Regions from separate parts of the Homo sapiens genome. Here region 1 is linked to region 2. Evidence: promoter capture Hi-C in 16 types of primary human blood cells and fetal thymus (Javierre and others, 2016). All regions are on one chromosome and are shown on one strand. The core of a region is centred on a gene start or on the middle of the fragment in contact, and the rest is flanking DNA. Distances in the headings are between cores, read along the strand shown. Region 1 has its middle 10 kb from the start of CTSF. Region 2 holds the start of RBM4B (RNA binding motif protein 4B).

The links. The method cuts DNA at HindIII sites, captures the fragments that hold promoters and counts their contacts. A CHiCAGO score of 5 or more calls a contact.
Region 1: a fragment that was not itself captured here is called in contact with the fragment with the promoter of RBM4B in region 2 in 17 of 17 cell types (naive CD4 T cells, total B cells, total CD8 T cells and 14 more); the score reaches 19.6 in naive CD4 T cells.

Annotation. Positions count from the first base shown.
Region 1 is chr11:66,575,407-66,581,966 of GRCh38, reverse strand. No RefSeq gene overlaps it. Among named protein-coding and RNA genes, the nearest start is that of CTSF, 10 kb to the right of the region's middle. RefSeq lists an enhancer at 2,438-3,251. The HindIII fragment of the contact is 7,863 bases long and covers 849-6,560 here.
Region 2 is chr11:66,676,605-66,682,539 of GRCh38, reverse strand. It overlaps RBM4B (RNA binding motif protein 4B), which reads left to right and starts at 4,653. Exons shown (of 4, transcript NM_031492.4): 1 at 4,653-4,776; 2 at 5,449-5,872. The coding sequence starts at 5,461. SPTBN2 (spectrin beta, non-erythrocytic 2) reads left to right here. Exons shown (of 38, transcript NM_006946.4): 38 at 1-43. RefSeq lists silencers at 4,451-4,730, 4,931-5,040. The HindIII fragment of the contact is 1,797 bases long and covers 3,843-5,639 here.

The sequences.
Region 1 (6,560 bases), core at 3,531-6,030, 100 kb after region 2:
TGTAGTGGTGCGCACCTATAGTCCCAGCTACTCGGGAGGCTGAGGCGGGAGAATCGCTTGAACCCAGGAGGCGGAGGTTGCAGTTAGCTGAGATGGCACCACTGCACTCCAGCCTGGGTGACAGAGTGAGACTCTGTCTAAAAAAAAAAAAAAAAAGAGAAAAATTAGCCAGGCATGGTGGCTCATGCTTGTAATCCCAGTTACTCCAGAGGCTGAGGCAGGAGAATCGCTTGAACCTGGGAGGCGGAGGTTGGAGTGAGCTGAGATTGTGCTGCTGCACTCCAACCTGGGCAACAGAGTGAGACTTTAATCTCAAAAAGAAAAAAAATTTTTTTTTGTAGAGACAGAGTCTCACTATGTTGCCCAGCCTGGCCTCAAACCCCTGACCTCAAGCAATCCTCCCACCTTGGCCTCCCAAAGTGCTGGGATTACAGGCATGGGCCCCCCACATCCGGCCCAGACAGATTTCTTGCAGCTCTTGCATCACAGGCTTCCACACTTGTACCCACCCCCACCCCACAGATGGTGGTGTTAGTCCAGGTGTGTGACTAGCTTCAGGTTTTAAATCAATATACGTAAATCTGACCAAACCTCCAAATGACGACTTGCCAGCTGGTTAAGGCAGGGATTTAATTGTTAAGATGTCATGCCCTCCTAGGTCTGCAGGCCTCAGACCACCTAAGATGACCTTTTTAAATTAAAAGATAATTCCTGAGAAGGATTTCGCACTGAGCCCAAAGCAAGCACTAGCTGAGTATTATTATGATTGTTGTTGAATGTCTCCTCTGAGTTATGCAAAGGTGAAGTGAGTTAGAGGTCATTCTGGGATTATGGTGTAACAGGAAGCTTTTGGAAAGCTCTAAAGTGCTATAGCCTGAGATCTTGGCAAAGAAAGTAGTGAGGAGGATGTGAATCCATTTGTGTATGAGGCCCTGGGGCTTTTAGGGGTGGGAGTGGAGGTGGGGAAAGTCAGTATCCCAATCTAACTCTTGACGTGATTCAGCAGGAAGATCTGGAGGTGGATCAGAGCTGCCCACGCAAGGCTAAGGGACAGTCCCTGAGATGAATTCAGTCCAGGAAAGAAGTCTGGTCTCAAAACATGAGGCCCATGGTCAGGCGCGGTGGCTCACAGCTGTAATCCCAGCACTCTGGGAGGCCGAGGTGGGCGGATCACCAGGTCAGAAGATCAAGACCATCCTGGCTAACACAGTGAAACCCCATCTCTACTAAAAATACAAAAAATTAGCCATGCATGGTGGTGGGTGCCTGTAGTCCCAGCTACTTGGGAGGCTGAGGCAGGAGAATCGCTTGAACCTGGGAGGCAGAGGTTGCAGTGAGCCGAGATTGCGCCACTGCACTCCAGCCTGGGGCCTGGAATGTCTATCCTTCTATCCATCTATCCATTCTATCCATTCATATGCCCATCCATCCCCATCCATTCATTCATTCTACAAATATTAGGGCAAACCAACTAAGGGCCAAGCCGTGCCATTTTTTCACCCTTGTTGACCTTAGTCCCTCTTGGGAGCCCCAACCTTATCATACTTGATCAAATTCACCTATACCCCATCTTAAGTAATGTGATATTGTAATTTTTTTTTTTTTTGAGATGGAGTCTCGCTCTGTTGCCCAGGCTGGAGTGCAGTGGCACGATTTCGGCTCTCTGCAAACTCTGCCTCCCGGCTTCAAGCGATTCTCCTGCCTCAGCCTCCCAAGTAGCCGAGATTACAGGCGCCCTCCACCATGCCCAGCTAATTTTTTGTATTTTTAGTAGAGACGGGGTTTCACTATGTTGGCCAGGCTGGTCTCAAACACCTGACCTCGTGATCCGCCCACCTCGGCCTCCCAAAGTGCTGGGATTTCAGGAGTGAGCCACTGTGCCCGGCAATCGTTGTTTTTGAGGCAGAGTTTTGCTCTCTTGTGCAGGCTGGAGTGCAGTGTCAGGATCTCCCCTCACTGCAACCTCTGCTTCCCGGGTTTAAGCAATTCTCCTGCCTCAGCCTCCCCAGTAGCTGGGATTACAGGTGTGCGCCACCATGCCCAGCTAATTTTTGTATTTTTAGTAGGGATAGGGTTTCACCATGTTGGCCAGGCTGGTCTTGAACTGCTGACCTCAGGCGATCCACCTGCCTTGACCTCCCAAAGCGCTGGAATTACAGGCGTGAGCCACCGTGCCGGCCGGTTTATGTTTAAGGAGGTCCCTCCAGCTGTGGCCTGCAGAGGAGCTTGTTGGAGGCAGGAGTGGATTCGGTCAGGCAAGCAATGGTGAGGGCTTGGTCATAAGCGGCGGCTACGGGAATGGGGAGAAGTGGACAGATTGGAGAGATATTGGGGGGAGGGCTGGACTCCAGGGCACTTGGAGATGGGCTAGACGTGCGGCATGAAGGCAAAGGAAGAATCAATGACATTTCCAATTCTCTGGACTGAAGAGCTGGGGGAATAGTGATGCCATATGCTGGGATGGGAGATTCCTGAGGACGGGTGAGGATGAAAACAATACGCAGCTCTGGCTAAGTTTGACATCCAGGCGTTGATGCTATGTAGGTGGTGTGAAGCGCAGGACCCAGATCTGTCCATTTTAACTTTTAGCCACACGTAGGGGATGTAAATTACGGCTGATTTTTATCCGGTGATGCCAAACTCCTCTCTGGCCCTGCCTCCCTGACTCAGTGGTTGCGCTTCGGAGTGCAGTGGCTGCGTGGGAGGTGAGAAGCCTGCAACTTCTTCCAGGGCTCCTGACACTCGGGAATGCGCAGGACCGAGCCTCAACAGCGCCACCGTGTGTCGATAGTCATGACCGCCGTGGACCCCCGACTCCAGTTGTTCTGCCAGCACCCTCAGAATCCAGTCCTCCCTCACTCCCCTGCTCTTTCGGACGAATTAATCACTGTGGATTCTGGAACGCTTAGCGGTGGGAAGAAGGGGTGGCCTCAAAAGAAAGAGGTAGGCCGGGCGCGGTGGCGCACGCCTGTAATCCCAGCACTTTGGGAGGCCGAGGCAGCGGATCACTTGAGCCCAGGAGTTGGAAACCTGCCTCGGCAACATGGCAAAACTCCATCTCTACTAAAATAATAATAATAAATAATAACAATAATAATATAATAGTGAAATATTGGCCGGCCTCAGTGGCACACACCTGTAATCCCAGCATTTTGGGAAGTTGAGGCAGGTGGATCACTTGAGGTGGAGAGTTCCAGACCAGCCTGGCCAATATGGTGAAACACCGTCTCTACTAAAAATACAAAAATTAGCCATGTGTGGTGATGCTGCGTACCTGTAATCCCAGCTACTAGGGAATCTGAGGCAGGAGAATCACTTGAACCTGGGAGGTGGAGGTTGCAGCAAGCAGAGATCGCGCCATTCCACTCCAGCCTGGGTGACAGAACAAGACTCCATCTCAAGAAAAAAAGAAAGAAAGAAATCTACATTTCCATATGCACAGCCTTGGTCAGGATCACACTAGAAGACATCTGAAATGGTCATTGTGAAGTGGGACTGTTCTCTTTTTTGTTTTCTCTTCCTTCCTTCCTTCATTCCTTCTTTCTTTCTTTTCTTTTTTCAGATGAAATCTCATTATGTTTCCCAGGCTGGTCTTGAACTCCTGGCCTCAAGTGATCCTCCCTCTTTGGCCTCCCAAGCAGCTGTGATTACAGGTGTGAGCCTGGCTTGGGACCACTCTTAAATACAGACTGATACAGGCATGTTAACTTCAGAGACATGATCTTGTGAATGGTGAATGACTCCTTGTAAAGATCTGAGCTCATGTAAGGAAAATTCTTTTGATTTACATTTAGCTACATTCCTGGAAAATTCAGTATATACTAAAACTGTGTATATAATATAATGTGTTTACATAACTAACAGAGTTAGGGTTTTCAGCTCATAACTATAAGCAGGTTTTCCACTCATGTAAATAACTTATAGGACATTAGAAAGTTGTGCAGGACATGGAACAATGATCTGTTTTGCAGGACTGTCCCAAACACTGCAGGGTGTCCAGCATGCCTGGCTCATGTCTACTAAAGATCAGAAGAGCCTAATCAGGCCAGGTGCTCTTTCTGTATGTACAAATAGGCTCCAAAAACAAAGTAACTTGCTCATGGTCACATAGTCAATTCGAAGAGGCAGAACCAGAATTAGAACCCAGGTTGGTCAGTCTGACTCCAAAGGCTATGATTTTACCCTCTTTTAAAATTTTTTATTTAAGAGAGATGCAGGTTTCTCTGTGTTGCCTAGGTTGGACTTGTGGGCTCAAGCAATCCTCCTGCCTCAGCCTCTCAAGTAGCTGGGATTAGAGGCACCCACCACCACACCTGGCAACTTTTTTTTTTTTGAGACAAAGTCTTGCTCCATCTCCCAGGCTGGAGTGCAGTGGTGCAATCTCAGCTCACTGCAACCTCTGCCTCTTGGGTTGAAGTGATTCTCCTGCCTCAGCCTTCTGAGTAGCTGGGGTTAGAGGTGCATGCCACCACCCCTGGCTAATTTTTGTATTTTTAGTAGACGCAGGGTTTGCCATGTTGGCCAGGCTGGTCTCGAACTCCTGACCTCAGGTGATCCACCTGCCTTGGCCTCCCAAAGTGCTGGGATTATAGGCATGAGCCACCGTGTTTGGCAAGAGCCTGTCTTTAAAAAAAAAAAAAAAAAAGAAGGCCCAGTGTGGTGGCTCACGCCTGTAATCCCAGCAGTTTGCAGCAGTTTGGGAGGCCGAGACGGGCGGATCACGAGGTCAGGAGATCAAGACCATCTTGGCTAACACAGTGAAACCCTGTTTCTACTAAAAAAATACAAAAAATTAGCTGGGTGTTGTGGTGGGCGCCTGTAGTCCCACCTACTCAGGAGGCTGAGGCAGGAGAATGGTGTAAATTAGCAAGACTCCCTCTCAAAAGAAAAAAAAAAAGAGAGAGAAAGAAAAACAAAATAAATTAAACTTTACTCCCATGTAAGCGTCTCATGCTCTACCGACTGAGCTTGCTGGGCCCTCCACTCTCTTGTAAAAATTGCTGCAGATTTTCATGCGTGTCCGTGTGAAGAGACCACCGAACAGTCTTTGTGTGAGCAACATGGCTGTTTATTTCACCTGGGTGCAGGCGGGCTGAGTCCAAAAAGAGAGTCAGCGAAGGGAGATAAGGGTGGGGCCGTTTTATAGGATTTGGGTAGATAAAGGAAAATTACAGTCAAAGGGGGTTGTTCTCTGGCGGGCAGAGTGGGGGTCACAAGGTACTCAGCAGGGGAGCTTTTGCTGGTTCTAGGACAGGTAAAATGGGGGAATTGTAAGGAGAGTTTATAGGCTTTAAAAGGCCATGCTGTAGCAGGCGAGTGATAACAGGCTTTAATCCTTTTAAAGCGTGCTGTGGGATGGGATCTTGGCATTGAGCGGGGTAAGGGTGATTCGGTTTTAATGAGATGGTAACGGGTGCGTGATCGGTCTCCAAGGAGGAAGTAGAGGTATCTTACACTTGTGGGTTAAGGTGGGGGGATACAAGAGGAGGACACAAAGGAGGCTTTGGATTGGGAAGAAGGGCAGCAATGAGATGTAGTTGTACTCCAGGAATAGTCAGGGAAGCAGATAATTTAGTTGAAGTGTCTCGGCCTAATAAGGGAACTGGGCAGGTGGGGATAAGTAAAAGGAGTGCTTAAAAGAGTATTGTCTAAGTTGGCACCAGAGTTGGGGAGTTTTAAGAGGTTTAGAAGCCTGGCCGTCAATACCCACAACAGTTATGGAGGCAAGGGAAACAGGCCTTTGAAAAGAAGGTAATGTGGAGTGGGTAGCCTCCGTATTGATTAAGAAGGGGATAGATTTACCCTCCACTGTGAGAGTTACCTAGAGCGTCTGTGATGGTCTTGTAGGCTTCCGAGGAGATCGGGCAGTGTCAGTCTTCAGCTGCTAAGCCAAGAAGATCTGGGAAGGAGTCAGTCAGAGAGCCTAGGGTCAGAGTTCCAGGGGCTCTGGGACTGGCTTCCAGGTGAGTTGAACAATCCGATTTCCAGTGGGGTCCCACACAGGTGGGACACGGCTTAGGAGGAATCCCAGGCTGCGGGCATTCCTTGGCCTGGTGGCTAGATTTCTGGCACTTGTAGCAAGCTCCTGGAGAAGGTGGTTCTGGAGGAACGCCTGGCCACTGCGGTTTAGGCGTTTGGAAGTTCTTGTGTGCTGGAGATGTGGCTGGGGTTTGTCTCACAGTGGAGGCAAGGAATTGCAACTCAGAAATATGTTGCTACTTGGCTGCCCCTATTATTGTACACCTTGAAGGCGAGGTTAATTAAGTCCTGTTTTGGGGTTTGAGGGCCAGAATTTAATTTTTGGATTTTTATTTAATGTCGGGAGCAGATTGGGTAATAAAATGTATATTGATAATAAGACGGCCTTTTGACCTTTTAGGGTCTAGGGCTGTAAAGCGTCTCAGGCTTGCTGCCGAATGAGCCATGAACTGGGCTGGGTTTTTTATATTTGATGAAAAGGAGTCTAAAAAATGCTAACTGATTTGGGAGAGGTCGGATAAAGAAAAAGGAGCATTAACCTTGACTATGCCTTTAGCTTCAGCCACCTTTTTAAGAAGAAA
Region 2 (5,935 bases), core at 3,404-5,903:
ATATATTGGGTTTCAAAAGTATCATTAAAGTGAATTTCAACTATTTTGATGACTTTTTAAATGTGTTTGCTGGAAATTTTAAAATTGCATATGTAGCTAACATATTTTTATTGGATAGCACTGCTATAAATGGGCTCCAGACCTAAATGCAAAAGGCAAAAAATATGTTAATAGGCCGGGTACAGTGGCTCACGCCTGTGATCCCAGCACTTTGGGAGGCCAAGGCGGGCAGATCACCTGAGGTCAGGAGTTCGAGACCAGCCTGGCCAATATAGTGAAACCCCATCTCTACTAAAAATACAAAAATTAGCCGGGCGTGGTGGCACGCACCTGTAGTCCCAGCTACTCGGGAGGCTGAGGCAGGAGAATGGCCTGAACCTGGGAGGGGGAGGCGGAGGTTGCAGTGAGACCAGATCACACCACTGCACTCCAGCCTGGACAAGAGTGAAACTCCATCCCCCCAAAAAACAAAAACAAAAACCTAACGTTAATAGAATAAAATGTAGGAGAATATCTTGTGACTAAGGAGGCTACAAAAGAACATCTTATACAAAAGTTCAAAAGCAGGCCAGGTGCAGTGGCTCACCTGTAATCCCAGCACTTTGGGAGGCGAGATGGGAGGATCACTGGAGCTCAGAAGTTCAAGACCAGCCTGGGCAACACAGTGAAACTCTATCTCTACAAAAAAAATTTCTTAAATTAGCCAGGCATGGTGGCATGCACCTGTAGTCCCACCTACTTGGGAGGCTGAGATGGAAGGATTGCTTGAGCTTGGGGGGTTGAGGCTGCAGTGAGCCATGATCACACCACTGCACTCTAGCCTGGGCAACAGGCTGTCTCAAAAAAAAAAAAAAAATTCAAAAGCACAGCTTTAAGATAAAAATTAATTTCATTGCACAAGAAATAAGGATTTCTGTTCAATGAAGGACACCATGGACAGAGTTAATAATTAGTGGAATGAGAGATGGTATTTGAGACCAATAAGAGATTAGAATATATGAAAAAGCCTTACAAATCAACAACAAAAAAGGAGCCTACAACCTGAAAAGAAAGATGGGCAAAAGATATGAACAGGAAATTTACAGAAGCATAAACTCGAAAATTCAAGAGGCCAGGTGTATTTGCCTCACACCTGTAATCCTAGTGTTTTGGGAGGCTGAAGTGGGAGGATCACTTGAGGCTAGGAGTTTGACTAGCAACATAGTGAGAACTCGTCTCTACCAAAAACAAAAAAATTAGCTGGGCATATAGTCCTAGCTACTTGGGAGGCTGAGGGCTGAGGGCTTCAGCCTCCTGAAGCAGGAGGATTATTTGAGCCCAGGAGCTAGAGGCTACAGCAAGCTATGATCGTGCCACTGCACTCCAGCCTGCATGACAAAGCAAGACCCTTTCTCAAAAAACAAGTCTGGGCACAGTGGCTCACGCCTTTAACCCCAGCAATTTGGGAGGCTAAGGTGGGTGGATCACCTAAGGTCAGGAGTTCGAGACCAGCCTGACCAATGTGAAACCCCGTCTCTACTAAAAATACAAAAATCAGCCAAGTGTGGTGACACGTGCCTGTAGTCCCAGCTACTCAGGAGGCTGAGACAGGAGAATTGCTTGAACCTGGGAGGCGGAGGTTGCAGTGAGCTGAGATCGCACCACTGCACTCCAGCTTGGGCGACAGAGCAAGACTCCGTCTAATAAAAAAAAAAAAAGGTTGTGCGTGGTGGCTTACACCTGTAATCCCAGCACTTTGGGAGGCCGAGGTGGGCGAATCACAAGGTCAGGAATTCAAGACCAGCCTGACCAATATGGTGAAACCTCGTCTCTACTAAAAATACAAAAATTAGCCGGGCGTGGTGGTGGCACACGCCTGTAATCCCAGCTACTCAGGAGGCTGAGGCAGAAGAATCGCTTGAACCCAGGAGGCAGAGGCTGCAGTGAGCCGAGATAGTACCACTGCACTCCAGCTTGAGCGACAGAGTGAGACTCCATCACACACAAAAAAAAGACAACAAGAAGGGATGCTTAAAATCATTAGTAACCAGAGAAATACAAATTAAAGCAACAATGAAATATCACTTTATATCTATTAGACTGACAAAAATTAGAAAAGCGGATAATGTCTATCACTGGCAGGGATGTAGAGATACAAGGCCCCTCATATGCTACAGGTGGAAGAGTATGCTGGTGCAGCTTTTCCAGAGAATTCAGTGCTACTTAGACAGGTGAGTTCTACGTATACTCTATGACCCAGCAATTCCACCTCTGGTTTTATATCCCCCCAAATTCTCACACAGAATTAGGGCACATACTTAAGCATGTTCACTGCAGCCTTGTTTATAATGACAGAGAGCTGGAAGCTGAGTGCCCTATGCCCAGAGATGAACAGGTACAATATGTGACTGTACACCACAGAGGACTGCGTTACTCGCTAGTTAGACATCATGCGGCGACATAGCCCTTAGTGGAAAAATAGTAAGACACAGCTATACAACTCAAAACACACCATTTACATAATGCATACAAATGTACAATGTTTAAGTCCAGATTAGAAGAAATCAACTGTAAAAAGACATTTGTAACAATCCAGGAGAAATTTGGGCATAAACATTAGATAATATTAACATAGGATAGTGCTATTTTAAATTAGCAGCACATATAAGCCGGGTGCAGTGGCTCACACCTGAATCCCAGCATTTTGTGAGACTGTGGTGGAAACATCTTGAGCCCAGAAGTTTGAGACCAGCCTGGGCAACACAGTGAGACCCCCATCTCTACAAAAAAAAAAAATTTAAATTAGCTGGATGGGGTGGCCCACACCTGTGGTCCCAGCTGCTCCAGAGGCTAAGATAGGAAGATCACTTGCGCCTGCGAGGTCGAGGCTACAGTGAGCCATAATGGTGCCACTGCACTCTAGCCTGGACAACAAAGTGACACCCTGACTCAAAAATAATAGTAATAATAGTTAAGGGCCGGGCGAGGTGGCTCACGCCTGTAATCCCAACACTTTGGGATGCCAAGGCCAGCGGATCGCTTGAGGTCGGGAGTTCGACACCAGCCTGGCCAACACGGTGAAACCCTGTCTCTACTAAAAATACAAAAATTAGCTGGGGGGTAGCGCACGCCTGTAGTCCCAGCTACTCGGGAGGCTGAGGCAGGAAAATGGCTTGAACGCAGGAGGTGGAGGTTGCAGTAAGCCGAGATCGCACCACTGCCCTCCAGCCTGGGCGACACAGTGAGACTCTGTCTTTAAAAAATTAAACAAAAAATAAAAATAAAATAAAATTGGAAGGACAGTGCCTCTTCTGAAATGGCTGAGAAACAAAAAGAACTCAGGTAAAGAACATATCCAAGTAGCTGGGGTGGAAGAGGGCAGCCTGGGGAATGTGTCCCAGATGGTATCAGAGAAGCCATTATGGAGCCACTAAAATGAGGAATGGTGGCTGACAACCTCCCTGGCGGGCTCTACTAGGAGATAAACCCAATCCATCAATCTCCATAAAAGGCTACTCTTTGCTGGAAGGTGACAGTGGGGAATCAGCCTAAACTTCTTTTTTTTTTTTTTTTGAGACCGAGTCTTGCTCTGTCACCCAGGCTGGAGTGCAGTGACGCCATCTCGGCTCACTGCAACCTCCGCCTCCCGGGTTCCAACGATTCTCCTGCCTCAGCCTCCCGAGTAGTTGGGATTACAGGCGCCCGCCACCACGCCGGGCTATTTTTTGTATTTTTAGTAGACACGGGGTTTCACCATGTTGGCCAAGCTGGTGTCGAACTCCTGAACTCGTGATCCGCCCGCCTTGGCCTCCCAAAGTGCTGGGATTATAGGCGTGAGCCGCCGCACCTGGCACGCCTAAGCTTGTTTTTACCGCCAGGAGGTGCCCTTGGACCACAGCTGAATTTTGAATGCTAGACAGTCGGGAAACTCAGTTGCCTAGACTTCCAGCTTGGTGTGTACGAGGAGACCCTGTCCCACCCAGAACTAGGGACCTCGCTGGGCCTCTCCACCAAGTATTCCTCTGGCGTGCTCACCACAGACCAGGACTGTGATGGACACACAATGAGTGAGAGAGAATCAGACCACGGATACTCACGAGCAAACAAAACATGACTAAGCGTAGCCTGGGTAGCAATGCCTCTTAGGCCTGTCCCAGTTCTGCCAGGTTATCTTTCTGCCCCTTGGTTCTCAGTTTCCGTAGCAATAAATAACACCTCTGCAATGACAAACTTTAAAATAATGTTTAAAGCGCTACAAAACAATGACTAGTTTTGCTTAAAATGTGGCGCACCTGTATTTTTGAAATGTTGCCCCAAGCTGCCACAGAAGCCGGCCAGCCCGCTACAAAAGCCCCTTTTTAGGGCCCTCGGGGAGATTCCTCTGTCATTAGCTCCCCGCCCCCCTCAAAGGGCCCAAGAGCAGGACCCATTGTGGTGAGCGACTCCCCAAGGCCTCCGCTTTTCTAGGCAGTGGTTGCGTTCAGAGCCCCTCTGACGCAGCAGTGGCGACCCTTTCCAGGGTGGTGACTGGCTGGCTGGGGCTGGGGGTGGGCTGACCTCCGCGGCGCCGCGCCACCACCAACAGGCCCCGCCCCCGTGCTGCGTGGTCATTTGTATGCAGCCTCGGGATTGGTCACTCGGCTCCCGCGAGGGGAAGGGGAGGGAAGCAGCGCGCACTCGCGCGTGCGTGAGCTGGCGCGCGAGAAAGGGCCCGGTCGCGTCCAGGCTCGAGCGGCCGTCGCCATTTTGTAAGGTTCTCTCTGACGTGGGAGCCGCCGTCGCTGCCGCCACCCGGAGGTGCGAGGGGGTCGTGTGTGTGTGATGTGGGGAGCTCGGGGGCGGGTCGGGCCGGGCCTCCGGCAGACTGCACGGCCCGGATTTGGGTTTCTCATTTTGCAGCGGGAGGTCTGGGAAGACAACGGGAGGAGGCGGGGCCGGGTCTCCGGAAGGAGGCGGGGCAGGGGTCGGGTCGAGTCTTTGTTGGGGCGAAGAAGCTGGAGGGTGGGCCGCTGGGGGCGAGGTGGTTGGTCCCCGGTTTGGGGGAAAGGGGACTTTTTTCTTTTTAGAGTATCTTGAAAGGCGCTAGTGCGCGCAGGAGAGGTACACAGATTTCCCTCCAAAACCTTGTTACCAGGCGCACTGCGATTGATGCCCCTTGCCTTTGCTTGGGCTTTTCTCTTCCCTCATTTTAAGACATGAAGCAGCTAATTCTGGTATTTCATTGCGCTCCACTTCACGGAGATGATAGACTGGGCTATGCATGCTGACCCTCGACCTCCTGTTTGCATGTCACGCATAGCTCGCACTTCTCGAGAACAAACCGCCCTTCTTCTATTGAGGAAGAATAATGAATGTCTGTACGAGGGTCTTGAAGGTGCAAGAACTTTGGAGGATTAGACGAAAATGCTGCAGTGCACCGAAATTTCCCACCACACCCCTGACTTTTGAAGTCTTGTGTTTCTCTCCCAGGCTCTTGTCAGGATGGTGAAGCTGTTCATCGGAAACCTTCCCCGGGAGGCTACAGAGCAGGAGATTCGCTCACTCTTCGAGCAGTATGGGAAGGTGCTGGAATGTGACATCATTAAGAATTACGGCTTTGTGCACATAGAAGACAAGACGGCAGCTGAGGATGCCATACGCAACCTGCACCATTACAAGCTTCATGGGGTGAACATCAACGTGGAAGCCAGCAAGAATAAGAGCAAAGCTTCAACCAAGTTACACGTGGGTAACATCAGCCCCACTTGTACCAACCAAGAGCTTCGAGCCAAGTTTGAGGAGTATGGTCCGGTCATCGAATGTGACATCGTGAAAGATTATGCCTTCGTACACATGGAGCGGGCAGAGGATGCAGTGGAGGCCATCAGGGGCCTTGACAACACAGAGTTTCAAGGTGAACTGCTCTGGGCCTGGGTAGTAGCGCCGAGTGGGGTCTAGCTCAAAACAGGCAAGAACA